Linked DNA regions of Homo sapiens: all the other regions are linked to region 2. The links are contacts of gene promoters, found by promoter capture Hi-C in human tissues and cell types (Jung and others, 2019). All regions are on one chromosome and are shown on one strand. Each heading gives the region's core, a stretch centred on a gene start or on the middle of the fragment in contact. The rest is flanking DNA. Distances are from core to core; before and after follow the strand shown. Region 1 has its middle 73 kb from the start of CDH20. Region 2 holds the start of CDH20 (cadherin 20). Region 3 overlaps CDH20 (cadherin 20). Region 4 overlaps CDH20 (cadherin 20). Region 5 has its middle 90 kb from the start of CDH20. Region 6 has its middle 120 kb from the start of CDH20. Region 7 overlaps CDH20 (cadherin 20).

Region 1 (3,647 bases), core at 1,090-3,589, 72 kb before region 2:
AATTCTTTTATGAAACTTACAAATTTATTCTTACAAAGAAGCTCAGCCAAGAGACAAATGAAAAGGGAGCAGTTCTGGAGGAAGCTGGGGCAGAGGGTCCCGAGCCTCACCCATCGTTCTCCTCACCTCCTCGCCTCTCCCAAGTTATCCCTGTAGCATTTAGAGCTTTTGCCCCAATTCAAGGTTAAGTTGGGGGAAAATAGCAGAAATCTGGGATCAAGTAAGAAACAGGTCTTCTCAAATCATAATATTAAAGCTAGCAAAGAATAAAAGGAAAGTAAACCCAACAATTCTTATGATCCTTTTCTTTCTATAAAAATTATATCTTAAATATCCATTATAGTACGTGCAAAATGACAAACAGAACAGGCAAATCATCGGTCAGGGGCTTGGCAAGAAACAGATGGGATTCACAGTTTGGGTCATTTAAGGAAAGTTGAGTAAATGCATACACCCATGTGAGAGGCACAGGAATAACAGTGAATCCCATTAAAGCAGGCTGCAGTGATCATCTCTGGGCTATGAGGAGAGGCCCACTCAGGACCAGGTTCCCTAAGTCAGGGAGCAGCCAGCCTGGGTACCTCCTTAGGAAAAAGGCTGAGGAAAATGCTGTTACCTTACTCAGATTTAAGTGTGACCTATACCCAAAAGCCAGAAAACAAAGGAACCCATTGAGACATACCCTCAGAGCTGAGCGAAAAAGGGTAGAAACTAAATCTGGAGCAAGACACACGAAAAATGCAGCAGAGGCAATTAACATGACTTGTAGGTGCATGAATATTTTAATGTAATTTGAATACTTGGATTACAGTAAAACATAATATCACAGCATCCGACATTATATAAAATAGAAATTCATATAGTGTTAAGTTCAGGAAAATGAGGTAAGCTCATAAATGCTAAAAATAATACCTGTGACATCATGGGGCAATTATTTGGGTTTTTAAATATTTCTCCCTTGGGCATGTAGGAAAATTTGTTTGACCTTTAGTTAAAGACCATCTCAGGCAGAGAATTGATTGCATCTGCCCTCCAAGGTGATCATAAAGACAGTTTCACAGCACAATTGCTACAGAGAAGCTTTTTCCTCAGGTTTTTCTTCGAGTGATTTGGTAAAAATACTTAGGTGACAGAATCATGGCCAAATGCCTCCCAAACCTGCCCTCCAAATTTTGAGGGAGTTAGTACTTAAGCTGCTTTGTGAGTATCTTTATTTCGCCACTGTGCTTGGGGACCAGCACCCACATACATGTTTGATTGGCATGCTGACCAAACACAGGATGAATGCAATTAAAGTATGCCTTATTTTTTCTTTTCTAAAGTTTCTTTGGATAGGCTGCAGGTAACTTGGGGTAACTTGTATATTTTCCACCAGTAACACTCTGACCGAGGCTCCCTTCTCCTGGTGTCTGTCCACTGCACTAACAGGCTTTCACTGGAGTCCCCTGCCTGACAGTCCTCCCTGCCAGGACCTGCTAAGGCTTCATGAAGTTTGCTCTCCTCCCAGAAGGGGCCAAGATGGAGTCTTGAGGGAACACTCCCATGGCAAAAGGGAGTTAACTCTAGGTCTCTGCTCTCCTTTCTCTCTCCCCACCCCACCCTGCCCACGCCTCCCTTTCTCCTCTGCTCTCACTCTCTTCCCACCTGCTCCTCCCACTACAGGCCATGCTGTTTTAGCTTTCACAAAGTGAAATCAGGCACCAGACCTCATGTCCCCAGCTCCAGGAAACTGGGCTTTTCAAGAGGCCCCTCTCAGCTCTCCACCTGCAGTACAGGAAAGCAGCCAGACTCTCCAGTGGGGTCCATGCAGGAAGGCATCTCTGTCTTTTGTGAATTTCTGAGCCATCTCACCAGTTCTCAGTCACTGACATTGAAATTTCCTCTTGGAGTTTGGCATCTCACTTTTAAATTTCACATCTATTCTATTTCAGTGTCTTGGACAAGATTTAAAAGTTAACATTCTATTATACATTCATATGTACATTCACATATACATCCATACTCGATTTCATACTTTATACATTTACAGCTTTGAGATTTTGATGGTTCAACTCTGGGACTTCACTAACTACTAAAAAACCTGATTGCTGTCTGATGGAAGCTTTCATATAGTAAATAGGAGCAAGTCTAAAACTTAACTACCTATTTATCTATCATTTCGTATGGAAGGAATTTAAAGATGGCTGTAAATATGCAATAACATAGTTTAATGGAAGACATTAGGAAAAGCATTAGCTGATTTTATATAATCCCTTGAGTTGGGTTGCATTTTATTTAATGACTTGAATGTGAATAATTAAATAGGTGGTTATTCTGTACTACTGATTCTTCTGCATATATAAAAATCACATGGGGGCCATTAAAATTAAGATTCCTTGGAATCTCTCCAAGCGTCTCCATTTTATTAAGGTGATTCTGATGCATAGGTTAAAAAAATACATTTGAGAAATTTCTATATATCCTGATGATATGCAGACCCTAATAATACACCTATAGGTATATTCAGGCATGACACAGGGACATCTACTTTCATATACCTAAAAGATGCCTTTTACGAGCCTCAGTCAGCATCCTGACCAGCTAATCAAGAAGATTATTTAAAGCTGAAATCATAAAAACAACGGAAACAATCCACATCTCTCTTTAACTTCAATGGGGATAACATTTACTTATTCACCAGTCTTTATGGGGCTATCTTTTACTTTAGTATGCTTCTTCTGATTATTCTAATAGACCATTCTTTCCCAAGCGACACTCCTAATGTATTCCCTGCAATTCCCAGTTTGAGTTTCTTTAAAGTGGAGTCAGAACCTAAATACAAAATGAATGCAAATCCTTTCTTTTTTTTTTTTTTAATTTTTTGTTTTTGAGACCCAGTCTTACTCTGTTGCCCAGGCTGGAGGGCTGTGGCACAATCTCAGCTCACTGCAACCTCTGCCTGCTGGGTTCAGTGATTCTCCTGCCTCAGCCTCCCAAGTAGGTGGGATTACAGGCATGCACTGCCATGCCTGGCTAATTTTTGTATTTTTAGTAGAGACGGGGTTTCACCATGTTGACCAGGCTGGTCTCAAACTCCTGACCTCAAGTGATCCACCTGCCTTGGCCTCTCAGAGTGCTGGGATTACAGGTGTGAGCCACCGTGCCTGGCCCATTTCTTGACTTCTATTATTTCCTTCTAGTATTTTATAGCTATATAAAATATATAAACTTATAGTACACACCTAGATTTATAGCAATACATTTTAGTTACTCACCTCAAGCATCTTCAAAACACTCAACTTAGTTTCCATAAAAATAAAATCCAAAATCCCTATTTCCTTATTGAATTCATAGGGCATTGGTTGAGGTAGGTTCAATTAGGTTAAATGATAGCAATAACAAGAGTAACTGGTACACACAGGTTTGGGTAAGAAAAACCACTGACTCTTGGTAAGAATATGACTCACCTGTGGGGAGCAGCAGTGCAGGGTTGCACTAGAGTAGGAGTTGGCAAATGTTTTCTTTAAGAGCCATATCATAAATCCTTTATTCTGTCAACCACTCAACTCTGCCTTGTGATATAAAAGCAGCCATAGGCTCTAAGTAAACGAATGGGTGTGGCTGCGTTCCAATAAACCATTTTGTTATAAAAAATAAGCAGCTAGTCC
Region 2 (3,784 bases), core at 796-3,295:
ACCCATAAAATTAACCATCACACTATCCAAAAAAAAAAAAAAAGACTCATGATTTTCTCTAAATTTTGTGTAAGAAATTGATCACCAAAAACAAGTCACTTCAACAAAACACCAAGAAACTGATTTTCTTTTTAGACAAGAAGACAGTTTAAGCTGCTAGAGACCGGAAGGCCCTGGACCACTAATCAGAGTCCTTTGGGTCAAAGTTGATCTCCCCACTTATGAGCTATATGACCTGGACACACTACAGTTGATCCTTGAACAACAAAAGTTTGAACTCTATGAGTCCACTTAGACATGGATTTTCTCCCATCTGTCATCCCTGACAGGGCAAGACCAAGCCTCCCTCTTCCTCCTTCTCCTTCACCTGCTCAACATGAAGCCAACAAGGATGAAGACCTTTATGATGATCCACTTCCACTTAATGAATAGTAAATACATTTCATTTTCCTTATTATTTCCTTAGTATCATTTTCTTTCCTCCAGACTATTGTTAAGAATACAGCATATAAAATGTATAGCATATAAAATATGTGTTAGTCGACTGCTTATGTTATCCATAAAGTTTCCAGACAACAGTAGGCTATTAGTAGTTAAGTTTTTGGAGTGAAAAGTTATATGCGGATTTTTGACTACACGAGGGTCAGTGCTCCTAACCCCCATGTTGTTCAAGGGTCAACTGCCCTTACTTTATTGAGCCACATCTGCATCATCTATTAAAATAGAGAAATAATAGTCTAGACTGAATAGAGTTGTTGGAAAAATGAAATGAAATAACATGTGTAACACATGTCTGTCACATAACAAGTTCTCCATAAACATTAGCTATTCTGCTATTAATAATCATTGTTATAACTATGAGTTCTAATTCTAGGCCTGCTGAAAGCTATTAAAATATGGCATGACTGCCTTAACTGGGATACTATTTCTATTGTCACACACTTGGGAATCTTATTGGATGTTTATATATATCATTTTATCAGTTCTTTACACACATTGATCATTTGGCCACAGAGCAGTTGTACAAATAGATTATTTAGTAACCTATCAATTCAATCAAAATAACTTGCTCTATTACAATCAGTGATGGGGGAGGAAATCCTCCAAGCACCTTGCTTGAAGAGAAATGTAGAAACCACATCGGGCAAAAAGTCCCCCTCCAGCCACTGTGAAACCCAAGTTGTCGTCAGTAACTTGACATTCTAGGGTAGGAATCAGGACAGGAGAGAGGTGATCTCTCCTTTTGACCTTGTGTATTCTGACCTCAGAAATAAGAGCTGGAATTGCCTTCTGGAATGGGCCTGTCACAGTATTGTGTGATTTGGGGGACCCCCTTCATCTGGGAGAGAAGGGTGGTCTCAGCTTCCACCTCAGAAATTTCTGACCCTTAATATACCTCCACCCCATCTCTAGTTAAAGGCTTAAAACTCTAAGATTTTCCTATGAGGACAAAAAGAAAAGGAAATCTGAGCATTTGAAGAAATTCTTAAAAGTCGATGAGTGAGGTTTCCCTCACACATGCCATCTTCCCCTACCTCTCCTCTTGAAAACAATGTCTTTTGCACCCTCAAGGTCAAGGTTAAACCCGAGTTGGTACTCATTTCCTTTCTGATTTTATTTGCCTTATCCTGTTCTACTCCTCAATTGCCTCTTCCAGAATCTGTGCAAAATAATTACCTCAACTTCAGGGGAAAGTTTAGATGTAAATACCCCCGCCCCCCTCCCCACGTCCACACATCCCCTTTCTTCTCTCTCCCTCTTAACATTTCCTTACGCTCTCAGCCAATAGAGGAGTTGAAACATTTAAATGCGGTATCTAAACTGCATTTAAAGAATTAACCCATTTTGCCCCTCACTGGTCTAAACCACAGGGTGCCAACCGGACGTTAATTGCTTTCATCTGGTGGGGTTCCAGACAGCTCCTCAGAAGGAAGGAGCGCACATTCCTGGCACCAATTGGCTAATTCAATTTACTTCAGCGGCATTAGCCTCTGTCAGAATATTCATGAGCAGGGGAATGAGGACCCGCGGTACAGGCAGGCAGCAGCCACTCCTGCTAGGGAAGGCGCGAGGGAGGGGAAGCGGACCGCGCGCCACGCTCGGGGGACGGTGACCGCGACCAGGGGGCTCTTCTCACTGGACAGGCCGAACGCGGTGGCCGCGGGAGGGCAGGGCAGGGCATCGGCGGGGTTGGTGCACTTGGCAGTACCCCCCAACTCCTGGCAACCGCACGGAGACTTTGCGAAACATCCGAAGGCAGAAAAGCTGTGACACTTCTGACAGAGGGGGTAGGGGGGTGGGGGGCGGGGACAGCGCCGCGAGCAGGGGTGAAGAGACCCAGCGGGGCACCAGCCGCCCAGTGGGGGAGGCAGCTACGTGAGCAGAACGCCCGCCCTGGAGCAGTTAGGACCGAAGGTCTCCGGAGAGTCGCCGGCGGTGCCAGGTAACGCAGAGGGCTCGGGTCGGGCCCCGCTTCTGGGGCTTGGGACTCCGGGCGCGCGGAGCCAGCCCTCTGGGGCGAAATCCCCGGGCGGCGTGCGCGGTCCCTCTCCGCGCTGTGCTCTCCCAGCAACTCCCTGCCACCTCGACGAGCCTACCGGCCGCTCCGAGTTCGACTTCCTCGGACTTAGTGGGAGAAGGGGTTGGAAATGGGCTGCCGGGACTGGGGGAGCTGCTCTCTGGAAGCAGGGAAGCTGGGGCGCACCGGGGCAGGTGGAGGACGTGGCGCGCTGGGAGCGGGGACTGCGCGCGCCTGGGGATGGTGACTGGGGATCCAGGAGCGCGGCTTGTGGGGGCGCTTGGCACGGCTTCACCCTCGCTGGCCCCGCAGGCGGTGGCGCCTCCCTCCGCCTGCAGAGGGGACAGGGTGGCCGCGTCCCTCGCACAGAGATGTGCGCCGGGAAGGGGACCAGAGAGCCAGGCTCCGGGGAGGCGCAGGCACCTACGGGGCCGATCCCTGGTCCGTGCCTCGCGCCGCGCCCCCGCCGGAGCTCGGCTGTGGGAGGAGAATGTGGTGGGTACTCGAGTCCCCGCCACCTGCCGGACTTCGCCAACTCCCCGGATTTCCTGTCCTCGGGCCCTGACACTCCCAAGGAAAGCTCTGAATTGCGCTCGCTGTTTGGTTTTTGCTTGTTGTAGTTACTCTGGGGGAAGAGCCGGGGGCAAGGGGGTCAAATGGGGCTAAAGTTTCAGATTTGCAAAGAGAACGTTACCGAGGACTCTCAACGTGTCCTTAGCAATCGGAGAGACTGCAGCAGCCTTTGCCTAGCTATCCGCCTCTGGGGCAGCAGTGGGGGCTGAAATCTGGAAGGCAGCCCGGAGGCAGCGTCAGAGCCTTGTTTTGTTTTGTTTGTTTCTGCCGAGACCAGGCTGGAAGTGAGAGGGGATAGTACCAGACAATCGGGGAGTTGGTCGCCTGGTAGATTCAGAGTTTACTATGTTGTTGCTATTATTATTAATGCTCTTGTTATTGGCACGAGCACCAGGAACAATTTTTTTTCTGATTGTTATAAATCGCCTGCAAATTGAACCTGCAGCCGCCTCCCCTCAAATGAAATGTCCCCGGACCTCCTCCAGTCTCTGATGTGTGTCTTTCCACCAAAGGAAATTACCCACTCAGAGCTGTGGTGCTGTCAGGGACTCAGCTAAGGAATTGGATCTACCTAAGAACAACAAAAAGTTGAAACTAGGATGAGTTTGAACCCACGCTTATAGATGAGTATTATGTTCCTATCTGCTCACCTTCCTCAGCCGCCTCTGGCTGGGGAACCCTGAAGGCATAGCC
Region 3 (3,785 bases), core at 555-3,054, 66 kb after region 2:
TAACCTTAGGCAAGTTACTCAACCTCTGTGACTTAGTTTCCTCATCTGTAAAATGAGGGAAACACACCTCATAGAGTAATTATGAGAATTAAATGAGTCAATGCCTGGCACATAGTAAGTACTATAAAGTGTTTATTAAAAGAAGTATTTAGCACTTAGTATGATGCCTTAATCGTAAGAGATGCAGAAAACGTTTTTGTTGAATGTAGGAATTCATAAAAGAATGAATGAACGCTACAACTCCAAACAAATGTAGTCTCCCAACTGTGATTCACTTGCTCTGCTAGCTAAGTCAGAGTGCAACAAGATCAAGGCTATTTGCTTGAATCCTAACAAGGGCAGCATAACTTATGGCTTTGTACCAACTAACTACATCCCTAGCCTGTGTAGCCATCTAGCAATTGCATTGTGCTGTTTACAGGTTGCAATGAATGAGAGTCTGAACGGGTCACTATTTGTCTGTCACAACTAGTATACGAATCATACATAGTACATGTCTTATTTACTCTAATTTTATAGTTTTATCTGCTTTGTAATTGATAGTTCTTGTTTCTAATCATCCTATAAAAACTATGTAATTTGCCAACAATTCCAGAACCTGAAAAGAGTAGTATCAATTTAATTATGGTCTTCTTAATTTATATACATATATCTATATGTACATATTTACTCAAGTAGCTGGTTATGATTAGGAGATCATAATTAGAAGATTAAATGATAAGCCAAGTATTTAAGGGATAATCTATGGAAGTGTCTGAAAAACCTTTCTGCTGATCAGCATATTGACATCTTATTTTCAATGTGTAAAAACAACAACAAAAAAGGAAAATGTAAGATATTTAAGAAGATATAAAAATGGTTCTTACAGATGAGTTATTATGAATTTAAGATGGTCTCCCCTATCTACAGAGCACAGGCCTTCTTGTGTTATCATTTGTGGGCATTGAGACTCCTGAGTATATACTTTTCTGTTAGGTTTGCTTTTCCTCTGTCCACTCCAGGTCACTCTACAGGAATCAATGGCATTGTCAGCATGGCCCAGTCACAAAGAAGCATGGCCCAGTAAGAAAGAAGATTACGCTAATATTAACAAATAGAAATGAGTTAGAAGGATATATTTACTGTGGGAAGATCTGGCCTATATCAGTATGTTCTGAGTGGCCAGCACAAGTCTGCCAGGGAGGACAGGGTAGGCCCTTTGATCCCACGATGAAGGGAAAATTACTATTTCCCTGGCCCAAACTTATCAGCTTTTGAGGAGCACAGGGTTGTCATGGGTAAATGAGAGTCCCTTCATTTACCTGTTCATACAGTACATTTGAAGTTTAGTCAAGGCATGGAAAATATGAAACTTTTATCAACATGACTAATGGAATGAAGACATAAGTCAGACACATTTTGCAGTGACCAACCTCTCCGATCCTGACTGCATAGTCATTCATTGCTAATTCACATTGGGTTTTCAGTGGGGTTCATAGAACACCAGCAGTTGTCTGTACCTCACAGAGCAGGACGTCTGAGAAGTTTAGTGAATGTTCCTCACAGCAACATGTTCTATATTCCACTATTAATTCCAGAAAGTACTCGAGTAGCCTAACTTCTAATTTAACCTCTTCTTTCTGCTTTCCTTGGGTCTCATTTTCCAATTTTAAAATCCACATAGCTAGAAGGCCACATATGGAAATGATATCTCCCTGTTACACTTGGCTTTGTGTCAATATTATGATTCATTTTATACATTTCTTCTCCAGCCCGAAATCCCATCATGTTTTGTTCAGCTCACTGGATCAAAAATACATCACCCTATCATTTCCCCACTGGAAAACATACTACTGCCATTTTTTTCATGGAAATCAGTCTTTAATATTTGTTCACTGATCTTCACCTCCCCCACCAATGCCTCTCTCCACCCCTGCCTAAAATTACTCATCATTCTAATAAGTTAATATATTGGAATGGAAAAAATTTGCTTTCAGTCTCAGGGATCAACTTATGATCATCTTAAATCAGCCTCTTTTTAATTGATGAGTCTATAACAAATTGCATACTTTGGTTTACTCTGTAAAAAATACAATTACACTAAGGCAAAGCTGGTTATGACTCATGTATAATGAAATGAAAACAGTATCATCATTAAGCACCAAATAAAGCCATTGATTCCGTGTATTATTCTGTCAGTTTTAATTGAATTGTATTTCCCCCTTTCAGTTCTTAATTATGCAGTTCATGCTGAATCTTTATTTTTATGCACAGAATAGGATAATGTTCTTTTCCTCCTTACCTTAGTGTCTAAAAATATAAGCCTATTGAGAACAGAAAAGTCTTTGTTGGTCTTAATTAAAGCAAAACACCTACTTTTATCCTAGGAGCTGAATGTGTTGCTGTACTGTGAGACTGTTACCAAGTGAGGGGACAATAGGGCTGCTTCCTGTTGCATGTCCACCTCCCTGACCTGTAGTCGCAGCCTCTTTCCAAATTCTATCAGAAGAAGAAAACATCACACTATCTGGCAAAGGAGGTCCATGGGGCCTCTCCAGCCTGCTAATGAGCATTAACTCTTGTCTAGACTGTCAGGTCTAGACAGAGCAAGGCAAAGTAGATACTGCTTAACTTGGGGGCAGATGTGATTAGTGAGATAACAGTCAATCTGAAAATTCATTCTTTTCTTCAGTTAACTTGCGAAAGACCTAAAGGCAAAAGCAGGACTCTCTTCTCTGGTAATATGTCACATAACTGAGATTATGTGCAAGTGAAAATGAGCAAAGGGAGATGGAATGTCTATCAAACCTAGATTTAAAGGAAATCCTGCTACCACAGTGTAATTTCTGTAGTTGAAAAAGAGACAAAGGGAACACAACCTCTACCCTCCTCTCGTTCCATAATTGTGTTAGCTGTGTCGAAAGTGCTTCTGCCAGATTCAGGTAAATGCATCACCCTAATACCTGCACAATTTTATTTCTAGGATTCAATTCACAGGAGGCAAATGTTCTTGTGTAAAGATATCAAGTGATAGTGTTAGGAAGTTATTCATCTTGGACCATATAATAAAGGCTATCTTGGAATTCAGAACCAAAGAATGAGCTCTGGTCAGTCTTTGGTGTCCCAATAGTATTCGATATAAACTGAAAGATTATTATCATTGGCTTGAAACCCCAAATGACAAGGGCCTGACTCATAATAAGTATTTAGTGGGAAAGAGGAAGTGGCTGCTATTTAGACTTAACCTTAGAGTTGAGGGATTGTCCTCCTCGGGCTGAGAACATTTGATCTAATGCGTTGAAGGGCTGGCCCTCCCTGGAATATCTCCTACCTCTGGCATATCAAACTATGCTCTCCGTGCAGCTGCATCTCCAGCATCCATGCTAATAGAGGACACTATCTTGGAATGAGAAGAGGCACTAATCATTCTCGTACTTATTTTACCCATGTTCAAACTCATCTGCCAATATTTCCTTGTGCAATGTGCTGCAAAGCATTCTAATAAGCTTATTCCAGTTCCATCTTTTTTAAATTCCCAACCTATCCTTTGAAAAAAGTGAGGAGAGAAAGGAAAATGCCCAAGAAATAAGAAAAGGGATTTAGGATGGGAAGAGGGAACTCATATTTATTGCGTTATGTTACAGGCACTATTGGGTTCTATACATTAGTGACCCGTTTTTGTTGTTGTTGCTGTTGTTTTTATATCAATGATCAGGTGTGTGTGTGTGTGTGTTTACACACATATATTTATGTATAGGATAACAGGGAAACAAGATAAAGTGACTTAGATACTAGACAACCAAGGG
Region 4 (3,315 bases), core at 712-3,211, 110 kb after region 2:
AAAAAAAAAACAGAAGCAAATGCTGGTCATGAGGACTTCCAGGCAGGGCATCTGTCTTAGAACATCACAGTGGTTTTCCAGAACTTTACCTAAGTCTGGCCAAATGAGGGCTGCCCAAAATCAAGTCTGCTGCATCATAACAAGTACTCACTTATAATTTTCAGTTTCAATTAGTATACTTCATATGGCACAGAAGAATACAATTAAGGCTTCAAACCAATGGGAAAATGGCATCAAAAAGACTCTAACTAAAACTGCAGACTATTATGTGCTTTCACAGAAGTCAGATCAAACACCATTTTGTAAAATTTGTAAGGATTAGAGGGAGCAGTGAAAGGAGAATCTTTGTTACAAGAAGATCATTGAACCATTAGAAACCAAAAGGCACTTTCTAAAGCAATACTTTGATTTGACCTGCTCTCTTGGGAAGGTTAGCAGTAATTCATCTCTGAGCAGTTAGCAATGGCACACAGATCTGGCCTTCTGAGGCCCTCACTGATTTGCCCTCAGATTTAAAGATCTAATTCCCCGGGATCCTGAAAAAAAAAAACAGTGCTTCCCAGATTGGAACTACTTACTAGTGATTTTGCTGTGAGTGAAAGAGCGTACGCATATTCATCTTTCCCAGTCTCATCACTGAGCAGCTTCCACACGATAAGTTGTAAGTACTTTTATGATGGAAAGGGTGGGAGAGAAGACCTCATGAATGGGTGAAAGAATAAAGGAAGGAAGAAAAGGGACATTCTTAATCACACTCCTACTAGGTTTTTCCTCCCAGGGCTGAGCAACAATTGTGCTTGTTCAGTGAGCCCACTGATCCTTAGGGGTTTTGAAATCAAATGCCTCTAAGGGCCAGCAAACAGCATAAATGAAAAAACTGGGCCAAACATGTCCCTTGGGTTCTTTAAAGGTACAGGCCCCATATAAAAGGGATAATCACTTCTCAGTTCCATCTTTCTTTTGCTATGTAGGAATATGGAATCTCTACATATCAACTGTTGGAGGGACACAAAGACATGATGAAGAGCTATTGAAAATGTGGAATTTTATTTAAAATATTTATATTTTCAAGTGTTGACAACGGTATGCAGGCCAAAGAAAACATGACTGCAGGCTGGATGCAGCCACATGGATCCCAGATGTACAGTCTATGCTCCAGAGCCGTGCTACTCAGAGTGTGGCCCTCGGACCAGCACCTGTCCACAAACTATTTGTTCCTAGTCTGCAACAAGACAGGGAGCCCACAAAAGAATGCAAATCAGCTGCATGACTAAGCACACCCTGTCGTTCAGATGACATTTTTTTCCATAGCGAGATTTTCTTTTATAGAGGATGCAGGGCACTGATTTACATTCTGGCATAAGCTCGTTATCCCACTGTTGGTTGCGATTTGGACAGCCTTGGTCTCTAGAGAAGCTTTCAGGACCCCTCTCCCCATGGTGCTCTATTAGGAATTTGAATGGCCCAACAGACCATGTTGGGGACAGAAAGGGAAAAGGAGAGAGTACAACACTGGTAGGGATCTGGGAAATTGCAGATGGCCCTAGATAGCCAGGGTATGGGTAGTCCACCACTGGGAATCTCCAGTGACTCCCAGTGCACAGTGTCGGCAGGAAGTCAGTTGTCTGGACCCGTTACTCTTTCCCCTGAATATACCCAATACCTGGACTCTCTCAGACCCTTTAGAGTTTGGGGCTTATAGCTAGTCAAGGTATATTGCATGTCTTGTACATTCTTAAGTAAATACTTGTGTATTTATTTATTTATGGTCCATCTCTCTGTCACCACTGCCTCCCTCCCCATTCTGCACCATAGATTTCAACCTCCAAAAGGGTAGGGTATCTAGACTAGTATCTAATACATAGTAGATACTCAGTAAATGTCAGATGAATGGGTGATGTTATATCAAAGGTATGGGTATATAAGACAGGTGTATACATTATTAGACAGATAAAACAATTTTTTAAAAATGTTTCCAGATGCTGACATATATCTTTCTTGGGAACTGTTGAGTATATTTTGTTTTTATGTCCAGACCAAAAGGGATGTTCAATGGCTATTAAATATGGTATGGGATATGCTTGAAGGCTAATACCCTTGTAAAAACAGACTGAAGTTGGCAGCTATGGGAAAAGTTGGTAAATGGAGGTTCTCAGGCATTGAGATAGTCAATTACTTGCTGGTAGTCTTTTAAAGGAAAATAGATTAATCTGTCTGAGGAAGGTCAAGAGAGATTCAACCCAAAGGGGGAGGGCTGCCGGAGAGGTGCAAGTCCTGTGCAAGTCTACATGGGTGGCTGATGTTAGAGGACACAGCAAACTACAGCCGTGAACTGTCTGTTGAATGAGGCAGAGCTTTAAACCTTCCTCTTCTTTACTAAAATTCCTCAAAATAATCCTGCTTATCAATCATATTACTTTCCTGCCAGTCTCTTGACCTCCCTTGTTCTCCATAATTTCAAATTCATTATGTTGGAGTTTTGTGGCCTTTTCTAATATTTAGAAACTCATTACTTTTTAAATCTCCTTAGCCTATTTCCTCTGATTCCCAGTACTAGTGGAAGAAAGGGGTTGCTCTAAATGCTATTCTAAGTCTTTATTCTGCTCTCATCATTCAAAAGTTTCTTCTTTGAAAATTTATATCATTTATTAATATCATCCATTCTGAAACTTCATTACTATCTTCTACTAATGCCTACCACCTTCTTATAATTCCTTCAAAGGTTTTAAAGCTTGGCTATGAATTTTCTAGTCTGCCCTACTCCTGCCAGCAGCCATAATAAGTTTAGAGTTAAAATAGTAATTATTATATTTATAATTATATCTACTATTTATTTAGTGCCTACCATGTGCTGGTCACTATGTGGTGTCTTACAGGCACTGTTTCTAATCTATAACAACCCTGCAAGGTAGGTTTTATCCTCCATTTACACAAAAAAAATCCACAAATCAGAGAAGTTCTATAACCTGCCCTAAGCCACAGAGTTGTTAGCAATGGAACCAGAAAGAAAACACAAATCTAATTGATGCCAAAGCCTAACCTCTAAGTTTTCCTAATAATAAAAAGAATAGCCACAATTTTTTAAACTGGCAGCCATTAGCTTTATATTAATTACTTCCAAATGTCACAACAATCCCACAAGGTCCCATTATTCTCATTTTAAAGATAGGAAAAATGAAGCTCAGAAATGTTAAGTAACCTATTCCAAGTCACATAAGTGGTCAAAGATTTGAACTCAGATTATTCAAAGTCCAACACTCTTGCTCTTTGGACAACCACACTGACAGATACAGATATGTCTGTTTAGTACATTGC
Region 5 (3,819 bases), core at 254-2,753, 91 kb before region 2:
ATTCTAGCTACTCTGTGGGTGTTGCAATTCAATATTGATTTTATTTAGAGCAAAAAGAGTTATTTGATGACAAAATTTAAATGTATACTGCATAAAAATTCAATTTTTAAAGAAAAGCTTTACTTTCAGATATATTACAACAATAAAACGGCAGCTACCAACCTCTTTAACTCCTTCATTACAATGATCTGAATGCCGAATGCAGTTCTCGACTTCTTTCCATTCTTTAAAAAATGATTTCTCTCATCAAGATAAAGCTGGAGACCACCCAGTAACTACTGACTTCCCTGGGCTAAGTATGTTGCAAGCTTTTTCGTTAATCTTACAGTTTTATAATTCGTCTGAAATAGGCTTGACTGCATTTGTGTTCCCATCATTCTTAGCTTGCCTTCTGATTTTATGCACCCTTGTCTGCTCAAGGAGATTACTAAGGTTACTGATGTGTTTTTAATGTAAATTTCTCCCCTTGTCATGAAAAGGAAAAATTATAAGGATGTCAAGTAATATTGAATGTAAATAAGCCTTTCTCACCTCAGCTCATGCTAAATTTCTACCGCTTAGTAAATAAACTGGTAGCAGAGTAGGAGTAATGTCAATGATCCACTGAAGGTTGCTAGTTTGAGGCAGAACAATAAAGCAAAGACTACAAAATACTAATGACGCTTCTGGGTGCTGATATTGCTTGCTTTCCATGGGGATTCACAGATCTAAATGCTGTTTTGCTGGCATTAACATGGCTGTGGAGCCATTGCAATACAAACACTGGCAGTTTAAAAAAAAACAAAACTATCTGGCAGTTGGACAGATGACCCAGGTGTTAGCAGTAATTCTGTGCCTCATATTTTCAGTTTATTCCCAGAAGTTTAAAGGCACTGAAGGGGACACCAATCATTCTGAGCAAGTGATCAGTCTGACCTAGCAACTAAATGATAGGGAGGGACAGACAGACATTAGTGTAAAAACACACAGACAAACAGAAGTAAAGGAAAGGGGAATTGTGACCTGAAACCAAGGGTCAGCGATGTGTCACAGCCTGTTATACGTGGCCTACAGAGCCAAAATATGTACTATCTGGACCCTGCCGACCCCTGTTCTAAACACTCCAATGTGGAAATCCTTTTGTGTGTGCTCTTGGGGTACTTAATAGGCTGTGGATATTTCTGCAGAAGCCAAGCACGCCTGCTAACCAGGTGTGTGAGTGTGTGTGTGTGTGCGCCCTAGTGAGGAACCCTAAAAGCAGACATTGAGATGAGAGTTTGTGTGCAAGTGATTTTTTATGGAATGCTCCCAGGAAAAGCCAGTAAGGGTGTAGGGAGACAGGACAGGTCAGAGAAAGAAGCAAAGCTAATGTGGGATTTTAGGCCAAGCTTCAGCTTCAGCCTGATCCTATAGTGAGCTCAGGAATGTAAATTACACTTCAGAATTGGTCCTGTCTTCCAAGGCAAGGAAATCGGATTCCCCACTCATGTAGCAAGCATTGGTTGTGAGAGGAGGGAACAGATATAAACATTTAGGGGCTTTCTGCTTTCTGGGTGTCTAGACCAAACTGCCCCATTAGGGCAGGGCTCTGAAGAAAACCACCAGTGTGTCACTCCAAGCAATGCACCTGGAGCTGGATAAAGCACAAAGGAACCCACAGGACATCAACAGGCATGAGTGGACGTGGGTGGAGCACAGGCAAGCCCGATACCAGGTGTGCGTGCATTAGCAAACACGAGGGATTTCGCAGATAGGATTCAGTGCAGAGTGGCAAAAGATGGGATGCACAACTTTATCAAACTCATCTAGAGGCCTCTGCTCTACCTTGACACCATGAAACACCTCTGTCCCCAGCATGAAGCAAAATGATCATTGTAATCATGGTTAATATTTATTGAGCAAGGTCAAAATATACTGAGCCCTTTGAATACACTATTTTATTTAATACCATAACAACCGTGCAAAGTTGGTATCATTGTTCCTTTTTCAGGGATAAGGAACACCATGCTCAGAGGGGTTAAAACAGCTGAATGATCCAAAAGATAAATGACCCAAAGATACTTAGGAAGTAGGAGAGATTAAATATAAACCCAGATGAAGTCTGCCCTACTCTGAAGCCCTTAGTCTTCCCACTCACCTACCTCTTGAGTTGGGAGAACTGAAAGATATGCCATTCTCCAGAACATTCTGAAAACAAAACTCAACTGTGTCTCCTCTGTGACACAGTACATGGGAAAATCTCAGAGGGTGAGAGTGTGGAGAGAGAGAGAGAGAGAAACAGACAGTGAGCTGATATAACCATCTCATGCAAGAGGGTGCCAGGACTCAAAGGGCAACTAGAATGAGATGATTCTCTGTGGTTTGGGTTTTTCAATCTATTTTTAAAGAATGTAAGCTCAATGTTTAAATAATTCAGTGATCAGCTTTCAAATTTGTACAAGATTCTGAGGGAGAAAGGCCAGTGTGTATGGGCAGTGATTCTCAAATTTTAATGTGCTTCCAAATTCCCAGGGAGTGCGTCTCAATGCTCATTCCCAGACTCATCTCTTAGAGATTCTGCTTCCAAATGTCTGGCTGAAGGCCAGGCATCTGGATTTCTTCTGGAAGATCTGAGGCAGGTCATCCATAAGTTGTCTTTTGAGAAACATGGTTTTAGAGAAATGGGCAAGAATGACTAAAAGAATCCGTGTCTACCCGAGAATAGTTGCCTTACCTGGAATTACGATAATTTTACAGCTTTCTCCCTCTCTCTTTGTATACATAGAGAGAGAGGTAGAACTATCCAGGCTGACCAGCCAGGAATGGTAAGAGATTTCACTTACAGATGAGTTAGCCATATGTGACTTCTCAGTATCAATCTGATTCTGATCTAGAGTTGGAAATTAAAAGTTGTTAATTTCTGATATCAAGTGCAATGAACTAGATCCAGATTTTTTTGAGTATAAATATGTGCACCAATTCAGTGTGATATTTTTTTTTTTTGAAATTCCAAGATGAGTAGGAGGAAGAACAATTTGGTATGCTGGCCAAGTTCTATTCTGGGGTAATTAAAATCTGCCTATTTAAAATTCTTTTTGTAAATTTCAGTAGCTATAGGCTTCTTCTTTACTTCCTGTTCTAAAGGGCCATAGAACAGTGCCAACGTTAGCTGACTGTCCTATGACTGCCAGGTGACACTCAGTGTAGCAAATGTGGGGCAGCCACATGTAAATCCAAATGTGAATTAGACAAGCCATTAATACCGGTATATTATATGAAAACATATTCAAGTAACAAGTCCATGTTTGGCTTTGATTCCAGAGCCTCAAAAAGTATATTTCTAAATGTTGTTATACATGTGCCACATAACAATGTTTTGGTCAACAACAGATCACATGTACAATAGTGGTCCCATAAGATTATAATAGAGCTGAGAATTTTCTATTGCTTTATGACACCATAGCTGTTGTAGTGTGATTACTTTATGGTTTTTACAGATTTAGTGTAGTCTCAGTGTACAGTGTTAAAAACATCTACATTAGTATACAGTAATATCCTAGGCTTCACATTCACTTGTCACTCACTCACTCACTCACTCACCCAGAGCAACTTCCAGTCCTGCAAGCTCCATTCATAAGCACCCTAGGTAGGTGTACCATTTCGTATCATTTATAGTGTTTTTACTATACCTTTTCTATGTTTAGATGTGTTTAGATACACAAATACTTATCATTGTGTTGCAATTGCCTACAATATTCAGTACAGTAACATGCTATGCAGGTTTATAGCTTAGGAGCAATAGGTTATATTGCTATATATCCTACGTGTGCAGTAGGCTGTACCATATAGGTTTGTGTAAGT
Region 6 (3,589 bases), core at 1,076-3,575, 120 kb before region 2:
TATGGTTTTCCCTTTTTCCTCTGCAGGAGGAACACTATTGCCTGATTCTATCATTATGGTCTGTTTCTCTCTTCGCATCCCATTGGTGGGGACTATCTCTAACAGTGGTGATTCCTTTTCATTCAACCATTTGCACCCTGTCATCTGAGCTCCATTGCAATTAAAAGTAGAAGTTGGTGAGATGTGTGGCCTAAAAATAATGGCCATAAAATCAAATGAAACTAACTGGCCAATGTATAGATTGAACTAATAGTTATTATTATGTCATTATTAGCTCCATGTTGTTGAAAATACATCATCAGAGCCAACGAAGACAAATAGTAAGTAATAAAAGAAAAGGGGGTGAGGACCTTCAAACTCTTGCCTCAAAGAACTTTAAATGTTATAATTTATCCTTACTTTAATTCAAATGCCAAACATACGGAATTCAAACAATCCTACAGATTGGCTTGTCTGATAATCTTGCCAAGAACTAAATACAGAAGAATCAATTTTGAAATTTAGGAATAGAACAGAGAGGTGTCTCAGACCACAAAGACTGTAGAGCCATACTTTGGTCCTGTTGGCAAGACTTTAACTGTGTAATATTGTTTCTTTCTTTTATGGCTAGTGAGATCCTTCATTTTCTATCTGAATCACATCTTCTCTATGTGAGATACATGGCACCTAATCAATCTGTGTCTACCAAAGCCCAAGAGATATGGTGTCTTCCTAGAACACAGATCCCAGTACATGTACTCAGAAGTCAATTTAAAACAGATCACTTGATTTTATTTACAATTGGGACCATGTTAAATTTACGAGGAAGACAATCAAAAAAGAAACTACATAAAGAAAGAAATAACCAATCAAAATGAGTTTGTATGAATCTGTTGTTTTACCATACAGTTTATCGGTTCAGAAAATGTCCAATGTGGAATGGCATGGTACTGAGACCTCCAAAAAAAGAAAATAAAGTCTTCTGAGAATCATTTCCTTTGGAACCTAGAGCAAGAAATAATTGTCAAGGAAGTTTGAGGTCTAATTTCTACTTGCTAATGTTTTGTGTGACTTTGTACAATTCCTTCAGCCCCTTTAGGTTTTGGTGTCTTCCACGACTGAAATGAGAAGGGGTGACCTGGATAATTTTCTTGTCCCACACGACTATAAATTCCAACCTGAAGATTCCTAGCGTCATTCATAGTTTAGGAACTTGTGCAGTGTGGCACTTGAATGGCAACAAGGGTGCTTCTTAGGAAACAGGGACCATTGATAAGCATTTCTCCTTATATTCCTGATACCCTGTTCTGTTAAGCTCTGTATTTCAAGTGATTACCCACAGAGGGAATGAGATGCTCTTAATTAGCTTCCTGAGTACCCTGAGGACCACACTGAATTTATAAAAGCATTTCTTCATTTACAATGTCCTGGTTTTTTCCTCCTATTCCAAATATGTTTGCATGGGAGATATTTTAATATTTAAATGTGTGTGCCTTCTAGATAAGGCCTAAACATACCTTCTTTTTAACACAGAAAATGCAAACAAATAAAGAGGAAATGCCAAAACATAGGAACATTGTTTAAAACAAAAAACAATACAAAATAGAAACAGAGAAAAGGCATTATCTATTGGTCCAAATAGGTCTTTAACCCATGCTTTGAAAATTTTTCCAAAGAGATCCTTATGCCTTTGTTTTTCCTTTTCCAATCTTAGAAAAGAAAATATTGGATGATGTTATAAGATGTCATAATTGGACTGAGAAATGCCTGTGTCAAACAGAATGCTCTTCAAGTATCACTGGAAATTGAGAACTTTGGCGGAGAAAAGCCTTTACTTAGAGATAACCAAATAAGCCTAGAGAAAGCATGTGGTGCAGTCAATCCCTAAATTTGAAGAGAAACAGCAAGAAGCATTTTATTATGCCTATTCACTTTTAAACCCCTGAAGGGAGATTAGCGACAAAGTAAATACACATCCAAAACATCTTTACTATCCAGTATGCATCATTAGAGGGGACAAGTTCTTAAAGTTCTGTTATGACATAAAGTAGCTTTGAAGTTGCCTCTGGTTGGCATCAGGTAGCTCTTGGCACAAAAAGCCAAGCAGGACTTGCAGGGCAGCCTGCCACTGGCCTAAGAGAAAGGAGCATTCATCTGTTGGGAAAGCAAATGCTTGATGAGTAGAATGTTGACTTCGTACTGTTGAAGGCCTCAAGCTTCATCTGTTTGCAAAAGAGAGGGTATTTTGGAGCGAGTCCTGTGTGAGCAAGCTGCAGAGAGGCAGGGTGGAGATGGAAAAAGATAATCTCCCTGAACATCTGTCATGATTACACATAAAACCTTACTACAAAGTCAAATGAGATCTGCTTGGTACTTTGGACTGTTAAGCCTCTGCTATGTGAATGAATGTTTGCAGTCATGACTGTGTGTTTCTATCTGGTTTTATGATGCCTATCATTATAGACCCAGGCAGTCAAGGGAGGCATAAGCATCATAATCAACAGGTCAACAGAGAAGGTGCATTTGCCCATATAAGTCAGAGGATGAGGCACAATTTTCATATGCTCTTGTGCTCTTTTCCAAAAGGAGTCAGGCAGGGAAGTAGACATACTTGCCATTATAGTAGCTGCCAATTTACTGTGCTTTTCTCAACTGATGAAGCCACAGGCCACTGTCACTCCAAATCTTGTCAGCAAAGATGGCAGTGGAAGAACAGTGACAGCAGCCTTCTCTTTCCCACCACGGTGAGGAAGAGAAAGCCGTTCTCCCACAGAGCCAGCACATTTGGTGATACCTCCAAACTCAGCATGGCGCCTCGAGGCTTGGCTGCCTACTGCACAGTAAGGGTCTTTTGTAATTTATTTAGATGCATATTGACCTTATTTTCTTGGCAGTGACATGTGAGAATATGTTCTTTTGGAGGATTTGGGCAACGGGGATGGGGGTGTCCGGCACACTGCCTTGCTTCATCCTCTCTGTTGAATTCACCAGTGCAGAGCGGTTTGCCACCTCTTTTCTCTCCATCAGAGCATCACCATCTTTGCTGGAGATGGCATTTTCAAGCCCTCAATTTATATCAGAACTTTAAGACATGAAGCTATACAAAATGAAATATTTGGATGTCACGTGTTACCCTTATACATAAAAACCAAGTAATGAGTTGATTTTTTTAAAAAGCATTTGCCAGCCAGGTTTTTCAAAACAACAAATATCCCTGATATCAAAATAATTCTCTGGAATCAGAAATCCACAGACATTTAAACTGAAACAACATGGCAGTCCTTTTCTTAGACAAAGATACCCTTATAATGATAAGCTTTAAATGGGCATCACCTCCACACTTGTAAAGAGACATGCTTCTAAGGACCATGACAGAGCCTGTGACAGCATCTCATCTTTTCTTAATTCACTGAAAAACATCTAACAAACATCTTTTAAACTGAGTTACTCCCCTTACGATTTTTTTATTCTTCCATTACAATATCCCTCAGCTTATATCATCTAAGTAATGTTAAAATTCAGTTCTCTTTACCTTGATTTCTTAAATATTCAAAATGATAATCATTTACATTTAAATATGGCAATTACCTTAGTACATCACAAACTGCCA
Region 7 (3,742 bases), core at 186-2,685, 90 kb after region 2:
ATAAAAAAGAATATTTGGGGTGGTAGATATATATACCAATTAACCTGACCTGATTATATGAATGTATCAAATTATCACATGTACCTCAAAAATATGTATACCTAATATGTATCAATAATAAACCAGATGGATAGATAGATAGATAATCATGAGTCTTGCTTTTCCAGAGGGGCACATAACATAGAATTAATTCCAATTCCACTGGAAAAATTTTATTTGGTCTGATTAGTGTCAATGAGGGGGGAAAATTCAGTAGTTTTCATCTAAATAGTCACAAATTCCATTTTCAATAACGCTCATATCATACAATGAACTAATTTTTCAAGCAACTTTTCAAAAATCTATACATTACCATGCTTACTGTACTTACTATCTAAAATAACAAAAGAAGCATACTGATTTGGGATTAATATGGCTTCTAGTCCATGCATTCAGGGACCTTAATGAGGATGGTAATATTTTAAAAAATACATGAAATTCACGGTTCTTTAGCTCCATGGGACAGAAAAGTGATTTCCTACACAAGCTTAAAGACATAATTAAACATATATTTCATTTCTCTTTCAAGAATATTCTTCTGAGCTTATCGAATACAGCTGCAGGGAAAGCAACTGGCAGTTTCCAGGCAAAAGGAAAACTATCAGTTCTTTATAAGCTGCTTTATGGGTTGTCAATTTCTCTATCTTTCCACATTGGCATCTTCTGTCTTGATATCATTTAAATTAAATTAGAAATTAGTGTTTTACTGGGAAAAAATAATGTTGCTACAGGGCAAAAAATAAATAAATAAATAGCCACATTAATGAGAATTTTTCTAATTACTTTCTAGTTAGCCAGGCAGTTCTGTTGACCTTTGCTGTGTTTTTAGGAGAAGCTGTTATCAGAAGAAAACTCCACAGTTATAACTGCACATTACATTTTTTAAAAAACCTCAAACTTTCTATGTTCAGGGAAGTATTTTTACTCAGCATGGGAGCCAAGATTCTGAAAAAGATTATCATACTGTGAGCTTTTGATTACATGACATTTAATAAAAAATTACTCACAGTATACAATATAAAGAGAACAAAAAATACTTTTGTTAAATGTTTTAAATATATAAAATATATTTATAAATATATACTTATATAAATGGTCACATTTTATACAATAGCTACCAAGTGTGAACGAGCCCATAATTCATAAATAAAACTGTCCATGACTCATCTAACATAAATTTTATGAAAGAGTAGGAGAAAGTAGTTCCAATGATTATATTTTGCTTTTGACTATGTTTATAACGGAATTCTCTTTTACACAGAGAGCGCAATTGTTATTTTTGTAATTTAGGATAAGTCTTGTGGGTAGATGAATGATTTAGCTACTAAATAAAAATACAACTTTATCATTGTCAGTTGGTTTTTATTTCTTTCTGTTCTTTTTATCAAGAATATTCAATGGCTGGTCCAATGCGAGAAGAAGAAACAGGGCAAATCCTGGGGAGGTCCCAAATCACGTCAAGTGTGGACCAGTAAGAATGTGGTCAGTAGCGTCAGATCAGCATCAAAGATGCAGAAGGATGAGGTATACAGAGCACAGGGATAAGGATTTGGGGAGGGCCCCCTGCCCTCTCAGGGTCTCTCTTTTCAGCTAGGGCAGCCCCCATCAGAGCACTCAGTGTTATAGAGACACAGCCTGGACCCTCTTCCTGCTTGAGCTCCTCTAAGTGTGTCTGAGGACTCATGCCTTCTTGTAAAGAACTCACTTATCTGAGAGTCATAGTTTCATAGTACAATCCCATTCACTTGTTTGTGAATAATCTCTGCATCATCCATCAGGGCCAAGGCCCTATCTTACCTTTACCCTGACTCCCCTGAATATGCTACACTACAAGATTAAGCATCTATTAAGTCCAGGCTGACTCTCTCTGGAAATTTCTTTTTTTTTTCTTTTTAATTTAATAGATCTATGCTACATTTTATAACATCTAGCAGTAAAAGCCACTGTTTAATCATGATGTATATCAGACTCCCCATTCCTGCTTCTCTCCAGCCTTCACCCCATAAAAAAATTGCTAAATTCAAAGCTTTTTGAACTCATTCTATAAATCTGAAGTTCTGGAAAATTATTTTATTCAATATAAGCTGTCCATATTTCACTTCCAAATGCTAGATTAAATTCTTTCAACGTGACAGTGTTTTATAGTTTTCTAAAATACAAAAATTAATTAAAGAGTATAGCATATGCACAGAGACAATGATATCATTTTCAAAGATTTTAATCCTTTCTAAATGTTTATATTTTTTCTAATTTTATCTTCCCTCATTCTCTGGCAAGTATACCCTTCTTCGCTTCCTACGCTCATCAAAAAAATGGCAGCAAGACAACCTCCAGCACTGCATTCTATGCAGACTTGAGTATATGCAACAGTGTCTTCAACTCATGTTTGTTTTACTAATACATAATTGTACATACTTACGGGGTACATGTGATATTTTGATACATGCATATGATGTGTAATGATTGAACCAGAGCAATTATGATATCCATCACCTCAAACATTTATGACTTTTTTGTGTTGGAAACATTTCAAGTCCTCTCTTCTAGTTCGTCTATTTTGAAATATACAATAGATTATTGTTAGCTACAGTGAGCATTTCACCAGCAGACTTAATCAACTTGTGTTTACAAGCAGTGTGCTACAAGCACTGAAGACTTGCCTGCCATCTTGTGCAATGTTTACTAAATGGGAGGCCTACAGAAACCAAAATGTGTCTCTCTGAGCATTGGAAAGTATGGCAGTGTTAGCACTGATTATTATTTGTGCCTAAATTAGACTTAATTTGCTCTAGGTTAGATACTATACCCTTCTCAATCAATACAATATTTGTCATGCTATGGAAAATTGTAAAATATACAGTGATTGCTGAGATCTCATCCATCTAGAATTTGTATGTACTAATTTTATTTAATGTCAAATAGCATTGATTTAGAATTAGCCAATGTAGTATGGGAAAAAACATTTCTCAGAATGCATATTCTTTTTCATATTTACTTTGAGGTAGACTTCTTAGTATCATTGGGATAATATTGGAATCCAACCTGATATAAGAACCTACCCTCTGCTAATAAAATTTTAACTCATGTATTTCTTCTTCTTCCTTCATATTTTTGTTTTCTAACAATAAAAAATATGAAATAAGAACCTAGCCCTGGGCCACAAACCATTTGGGGAAATTCCTCAGTATTAGCATCTCAATTTTTTAACTAGAGAGAAAACAAATCAATAATTGGATTAATAATTAGGTTCTTGAGCTTCTAAAATGTCTCTCATTACTTGATGGGTTCTTTATTTTTTTCTCCTTCTTCCAGTTCCTCTCCCTCTCTCTCCCACTTCCCCGCTCCTCTCTCTCTCTCTCTCTCTCTCTCTCTCTCTCTCTCACTCACTCCGGCTCTAGGTATAGGTCTATCTCAACTCCTTCCCTCCCTGCCCACTTCCTGAAAACAACTTACTGAAGATGCAAGACAAACCTGAGGTATGTTGAGGGGAACTAAAGTCCTAGAGAGGCTTATGTCAGACCATAGGGTCTGTATTTACAGTTCAGTTTCCCCAACCCTCGTGTTTAGGTTTGTTCTCCAGCACAGGAAGATGGACCGGGAAGTGATGGGAACTTCCAGTAATGACCATCACTGACCCATAGAAAAGAAAGTATCCTATACCCTCAGAGAAGCTCTGAAGGAGACAGAGATAGAGAAGAAGGGA

Evidence for each region. The method cuts DNA at HindIII sites, captures the fragments that hold promoters and counts their contacts. A contact is called where the count stands out against the background at its distance.
Region 1: a fragment that was not itself captured here is called in contact with the fragment with the promoter of CDH20 in region 2 in 2 of the 25 tissues and cell types used here (ovary and thymus).
Region 3: a contact is called between a fragment that was not itself captured here and the fragment with the promoter of CDH20 in region 2, in 3 of the 25 tissues and cell types used here (bladder, dorsolateral prefrontal cortex and hippocampus).
Region 4: a contact is called between a fragment that was not itself captured here and the fragment with the promoter of CDH20 in region 2, in 5 of the 25 tissues and cell types used here (H1 embryonic stem cells, dorsolateral prefrontal cortex, hippocampus and 2 more).
Region 5: a fragment that was not itself captured here is called in contact with the fragment with the promoter of CDH20 in region 2 in 4 of the 25 tissues and cell types used here (H1 embryonic stem cells, liver, mesenchymal stem cells and 1 more).
Region 6: a fragment that was not itself captured here is called in contact with the fragment with the promoter of CDH20 in region 2 in 6 of the 25 tissues and cell types used here (adrenal gland, bladder, heart left ventricle and 3 more).
Region 7: a contact is called between a fragment that was not itself captured here and the fragment with the promoter of CDH20 in region 2, in 6 of the 25 tissues and cell types used here (aorta, bladder, dorsolateral prefrontal cortex and 3 more).

The regions. Positions count from the first base shown.
Region 1 is chr18:61,258,626-61,262,272 of GRCh38, forward strand. No RefSeq gene overlaps it. Among named protein-coding and RNA genes, the nearest start is that of CDH20, 73 kb to the right of the region's middle. The HindIII fragment of the contact is 6,105 bases long and covers 1-3,647 here.
Region 2 is chr18:61,331,385-61,335,168 of GRCh38, forward strand. CDH20 (cadherin 20) reads left to right here and starts at 2,046. Exons shown (of 12, transcript NM_031891.4): 1 at 2,046-2,443. The HindIII fragment of the contact is 19,388 bases long and covers 1-3,784 here.
Region 3 is chr18:61,397,741-61,401,525 of GRCh38, forward strand. The region is part of intron 1 of CDH20 (cadherin 20); the gene reads left to right. Among named protein-coding and RNA genes, the nearest start is that of CDH20, 66 kb to the left of the region's middle. The HindIII fragment of the contact is 8,240 bases long and covers 1-3,785 here.
Region 4 is chr18:61,442,375-61,445,689 of GRCh38, forward strand. All of the region lies in intron 1 of CDH20 (cadherin 20), which reads left to right. Among named protein-coding and RNA genes, the nearest start is that of CDH20, 110 kb to the left of the region's middle. The HindIII fragment of the contact is 4,049 bases long and covers 1-3,315 here.
Region 5 is chr18:61,241,060-61,244,878 of GRCh38, forward strand. No RefSeq gene overlaps it. Among named protein-coding and RNA genes, the nearest start is that of CDH20, 90 kb to the right of the region's middle. The HindIII fragment of the contact is 3,001 bases long and covers 4-3,004 here.
Region 6 is chr18:61,213,484-61,217,072 of GRCh38, forward strand. No RefSeq gene overlaps it. Among named protein-coding and RNA genes, the nearest start is that of CDH20, 120 kb to the right of the region's middle. The HindIII fragment of the contact is 3,990 bases long and covers 331-3,589 here.
Region 7 is chr18:61,421,658-61,425,399 of GRCh38, forward strand. All of the region lies in intron 1 of CDH20 (cadherin 20), which reads left to right. Among named protein-coding and RNA genes, the nearest start is that of CDH20, 90 kb to the left of the region's middle. The HindIII fragment of the contact is 5,425 bases long and covers 1-3,742 here.